Linked DNA regions of Homo sapiens: region 1 is linked to region 2. The links are contacts of gene promoters, found by promoter capture Hi-C in blood cells and fetal thymus (Javierre and others, 2016). All regions are on one chromosome and are shown on one strand. The core of a region is centred on a gene start or on the middle of the fragment in contact, and the rest is flanking DNA. Distances in the headings are between cores, read along the strand shown.

Region 1 (2,700 bases), core at 131-2,630, 7.9 Mb before region 2:
CGGTTGAATATGATTATAAAGTTGCAAAAGTAAAATAGTTTTGCGCTCTTGTTCTTAAGCTTCAGGCCCAACAAAACTGAATCTACCCCCATATAAAAGAAGTTCATCAGATTCTCTTATAGCCTATAGAGGTACCAAATGGGACAGGGCTTCTCGCAACTTGGACACAGCTAAGGACAGAGCTAATTGCTACACTAAGAGTCACATCTTGAATTGACCAAATAATTCTATTCTTTCCATAACTAGGCCTCAGGTCTGGTTCTCAATATTACAGGTTCAGGAACTAGATTTTAAGCAGTCTGACCAAGGTAATTAACCACTGGGAGATTAATGCAAACTAACCAAACTCACAAAAGACTATAAAAAGAATGTCTATTTCTTAATGTACAAGAAGGAATCAATACCTTAACATTAATGATTAATACCTTAATATTGACTAGGGTATATGGTAGACATTTGTCTATCCAGGACACTCTATTCCCTAAATCAAAGTAGTTTCGAGACCAAAATGATCATGAACATTTAGTTATCATGATTGAAAGTGTTATTTTACTGGCCTTATGGCCTCCTCGCTGCCTCAGATTCTTTGAAAATGGGGTAAGCTCTGTTCCTGTGTGATTTAAGCCTGTGCATGATTCTGACCTACCAGTCTTGCTCAGTCGTGGATTGAGCTGCATTTTTGCATTTAAGGCAAGTTTTATCGCAAGCCCTAACTCCACCCCATTTGGCTGCCATACGCGGGTGTTGTGCGTGTCCTCCAGATCCCCAGCCATCCCAGCGCTTTCCCATTCCACTCATGCCCTCTCTTCCCCTTCCTCCATCTCAGTGTTTTCCCTCACTTTCAATGGCCAGACTGGCCTTCCCAAGGTCCCTCCTAACGTCAGGTCTGTCATCACCTACCTTCTTCCACCTTGCCTCGCCTACTAATCATCACCTCCTAAACTGTCACCGTTATCTCCTACCTGGCTCACACTGGCCCCACCGCCCAGAACAGAAAGGAAGCATGGAATCCCGGTCAGGCCGCGCCTACGCGACTCAGGGCGCCCGGCGCCCGCCCCTGCCCCAGCGGCGATGCTATGAGGGAAACCGTATCGCATTTTGCATAGTCTTCGCAGTCCTACATAACCGCCACCTTTACCCTTCGCGTGGGCATCACAATCGCCTCCTCCCGCTGGGGAAGGCAGAAAGGCGCCTCCTGACGAGAACCAAGGCGTGTGGGGACGCAGGGCCTCTGCGTGTCAGGGAGCAGAACCTGGGCCGAGCCCTAGGTGAAGGGGCGGGGTGGTTGGCCCTGAGCCAATCATGGCTCGTGACGACTCGGCTCGGCCAATCAGAAGAAGGGAGGCCTGGCGCTCTCGGGGCGGGTGAGAAACCGCCCCCCCTTGCAGCTCCGCGGCCAACGCCTTCGCCCAGGGGTAGTTGGAGCGGTGCAGGTTCCCAGGCTCCAGGTACTGGGCGCCTTACGAGCTGGGAGGTGGTGCCTCTCACCCAGCTAATTGCTCTCTAGCCCTTGGCCTTCACAGGTGTTGGTGCCTGCCGTGAACGCATTCTGACCTGGGCCGTATCTGTCTCCCAAGACTTTGTGCCTATGGTTGGGGACAGAGTGAGGTCGTTGCCTTGACGACGACAGCATGCGGCCCGTGGTCCTCCTAAGTGTGAGCTTGCGGCGGACCGAGGCCCACCTGCCTCCCTGCCTGCTTCGCCCTGGACTCGTGACTGCGTCCGCAGAAGAAATCACAACAGCGCTGGAATTGCTAGTTTGCTAGGCAGCATCTTTTGGACCTGCGAACCATATGCATTTCACCTCAAATTTGTTTCCAAGTTGAAAACCTTTGGGTCTTTCTATGCGAACGGATTGAAGAAACGGTAAGTATAGTACGTTTTAAAGCTTCTATTATCTCGTTCTTTGATCTATAAAAGATTTCAATCTTTTTTTTTTTTTTTTTTTTTTTTTTTTTTTTTTTTTTTTGAGACGGAGTTTCACTCTTGTTGCCCAGGCTGGAGTGCAATGGCATGGTCTCGGCTCACCGCAACCTCTGCCTCCTGGGTTCAAGCGATTATCCTGCCTCAGCCTCCCAAGTAGCTGGGATTACAGGCATCACCACCACGCCCGGCTAAGTTTGTATTTTTAGTAGAGACAGGGTTTCTCCATGTTGGTTAGGCTGGTCTCGAACTCGCAACCTCAGGTGATCCGCCCGCCTCGGCCTCCCAAAGTGTTGGGATTACAGGCGTGAGCCACCGCTCCCGGCCCTTTAATCTGTCTTAAACAAAATAAAAAATTAGCATTCTCCAAATATTTTTATCAAAATTGTTGCTTTTAGAACCATCCAGAAATAACACCTTGCCCATTGGCCAGGTTTCTTTTTCGTTTGTATTACCTTTCCGTTCAAGAGTAGAAGGCATGAGAAGTTATAGTTTATGAGTAACTGTTTCAGGAAACAGGAGGCTTTGTAGGCTGTGATACTTTTAAAGTATTTGTGGACAGTGTCACTTGAAAAAGCAGGTGTGTTCAATGTGGTGTGTCCAGATATGCAATTGGTTGGGAGAATAAACTTGAAGCAGTCAACTTGCATTAATGTTAGCTTGGGATATGCTTCAGAACACCTCAGACATGCTTAAAGTCATTTTTTTTGGTTCACTTTGTGCTTTCAAATATTGAGGACATCAATTACAAAATGTTTTAAAATAATCCAGGTTATA
Region 2 (2,700 bases), core at 70-2,569:
TGGCCTAGCCTTCTACACTAGGCCCCATCAGATCAAACCAGAATGGAGTTGCTTGTGCTAAGCACCATGTAATTAAAGTGGATTTTGAAAAAATGAGCCAGTTTTTTTTAAAAAAACAGGAGATTCTAGTTAACCTAGTGGGCATAATAAGGAAGTATGCTCTGTTTTAACCTTTACAAGGAAAGAAACTTTGAAATAATCTGATTTTTGTTCTGTTTCTGCTTTCTTCAATCTTTTTCATTATCTTCAGTCCTGTAGCATTATCTTAGTGCTAGAGCAGAGCCTTGAAAGAATAGAACACAGATCAAGAACATTTTAATGTGGAAAAGGTTCACAACTGGATTGAGGAACACGGATAATGCTATAGGTGAGCAACATAAAGCTTCCAGGTATTTTAAGATGTGCAATTTTGAAGAGAATAGAGGGCACGAAGGATAATACAGTTTTGCCTGGACCCTCATCTCCATATGAGAGGAAAAATTTCTAATTAAAAATATGATACATCACAGAAAATTACATAATACCCAAAGTATATGCTAATTTTAAAAATCCTGCAGATGTTTATTCAAATATACAGTGTTATTTAGTGAAAGACAAATCCTAATGTTATTGTGTCCAACTCATTTTTGCTTTCTAAGAAAGGTGACACGGAAGTAAATGAAAAAGAATTATATGAGAACTTTTTAGATATGTGTTCTGGTAATCTAACAGTGACTAGCTCTATAACCTTGACCAAGTCACTTGCACTGACCGGAAGTTCCTTTCCCTTACCCACAAATTTAAGGGACCAAACTGGATGATCTAACGACATCTATGGCACTAAAAGTCACATGATTCTATTAAATCTGAGGCAGCGCCTCACATGTAGTGGACTCCCAAAATTATTTATTAAATGTATAACATCTTTAAGTGGTATCCCCTCACTGACAATCTGGAGCTATTAGCAGCCTTCAGTTTATTTATAAAATAAAGCTGTTTCCTCTTCTTACCGTTAAGACTCTTTTAAGGATTTGCAACGCTATCCCATCATTTCGCGGGTTACTAGAGTCCTGCATGTTTGGCTGTAGAGCAAGGGTGACGCGTAACTTCTGGACTTTGGTTCCATCTACATCTGCCGGATGCGGATGCCAGTCGCAACAGTAACGCCCCCTTCGGCCACCTGCACCACAGCACGCCATGCGGCCACACCCAAACCGGAAACCAGGACGCCCCTAGGGTTGACGGGAAGGCGCTGCCGGGCTCCTAGCTTCCCCAGGCCCGCCCCCTCTGATGACGTCTCCGCCCGCCCCTTGACCCCCCCACGGTCCCGCCCCTTCCTACCTTCCAGTAGCCGGCGGCGGTGTCTCAGGCGGCAATGGAAGGATCCGAGCCTGTGGCCGCCCATCAGGGGGAAGAGGCGTCCTGTTCTTCCTGGGGGACTGGCAGGTGAGAGGACGAGAAGGGCGAAGGTGAGGGGTCGCGGGTGGGACCCAGGCTCCGGGTTTCTGCTTCTTTCTTTCCGGCGGGCTGGGGGCGCCCGAGAGGCCGCGGGGCCGAGCAGAGCCGGCCCTGGGAGGCGAGGGGCGCGCGCGGAGTGGGTGTGGCGACGTGGGCTAGGGCCTCTGCTGTTGCCGGCTTTCCTGAGGGAAAAGTCCCCTTTCCGCACCTTTGAGGGCTTTCTCAGTTCTGGCTGGGATTCGGGATCCTCCTTCCTCCAAGTCACCAGACTTGGGGGGCTCCGGTCGAGAGCGAGTTCTGGTCTCGGTCACTTGGCGTGAGCTTCCCCGACTGGTGCCAAGCACCTTTCCTCCTTTCCGTAAAAAGAAAGCTAGGAGCGCCACTGTGCACCTCCACTGAGATCCTCTTTTGAAAACTATTACCAGAAGGAACTTGGTAAGAATGAATCAGTAGCAATCTGGACACCCTGAGGCCTTTGTTGACTTCGGAAGAAGGAAAAAAAAAAAGCCAGGAAAAAAAAATACACAAGTTACCCATTCTTATTTCCCACTTGGTTTTGAAGTTCTTCAGGTCTTTCCCGCCCCTGTAAAATTAGGGGGAAAATATTTGTGCTAGGCCTTTACCAATTTCTTGGTTAGTAGTTCCTCTTTCAATCATCTCATAATTAATAAAGCAAGTGGTTACATTCTATCCACCACTGTCAGAATACACCATGCCAAAGATAGAATTGATGGATGTATTATTTTCAGCTGATGTGAGACTTTGTAAACCTGTAGCCTTTTCGCCAGTTTCAGACTGAAGGGATGCTTTCAGTTTCATGGTGTTGTCTGCCATTGCCAACACTGCCAGAGTGGAGGGATATTATGTAATATAACCCGCGCCTTATTTGAAGCGTTTTTGATTGTCTTATAGATCATATTATTTTTACATATTTTTGAAACATTCCAGTGAGGCACAACTTTCTGAAAAGGGCCAGTCACGCCATTAAGTGGCAGAGCTAGTTAGACTGCAGCTGTTCTCGTTTTTATTCAGATTTACCCACCAGGCCTATTGCCCCCGCCATGCAAGGAAAACAGCAAGTGAAAGTGTACTAGGGATAAAATGATAGGAAAGTAGATAATAAAAAACTTTGGCCGGGCGCAGTGGCTCAAACGCTTGCAATCCCAGCGCTTTGGGAGGTCGAAGCAGGCGGGTCGCTTGAGCTCAGGAGTTCTTAGACTAGCCTGGGCAACATGGCGAAACCGCGTCTCTACAAAATACAAA

The links. Contacts are between HindIII fragments. The CHiCAGO score rates a contact against its expected background, and 5 or more counts as called.
Region 1: the fragment with the promoter of CDKL2 here is called in contact with the fragment with the promoter of UBA6 in region 2 in 1 of 17 cell types (fetal thymus); the score reaches 6.7 in fetal thymus.

What each region holds. Positions count from the first base shown.
Region 1 is chr4:75,629,208-75,631,907 of GRCh38, reverse strand. It overlaps CDKL2 (cyclin dependent kinase like 2), which reads left to right and starts at 1,380. Exons shown (of 14, transcript NM_001330724.2): 1 at 1,380-1,866. The HindIII fragment of the contact is 1,829 bases long and covers 62-1,890 here.
Region 2 is chr4:67,699,774-67,702,473 of GRCh38, reverse strand. UBA6 (ubiquitin like modifier activating enzyme 6) reads left to right here and starts at 1,319. Exons shown (of 33, transcript NM_018227.6): 1 at 1,319-1,425. The coding sequence starts at 1,355. It overlaps UBA6-DT (UBA6 divergent transcript), which reads right to left and starts at 1,196. Exons shown (of 2, transcript NR_015439.1): 1 at 990-1,196. RefSeq lists silencers at 1,226-1,295, 1,426-1,595. The HindIII fragment of the contact is 4,018 bases long and covers 385-2,700 here.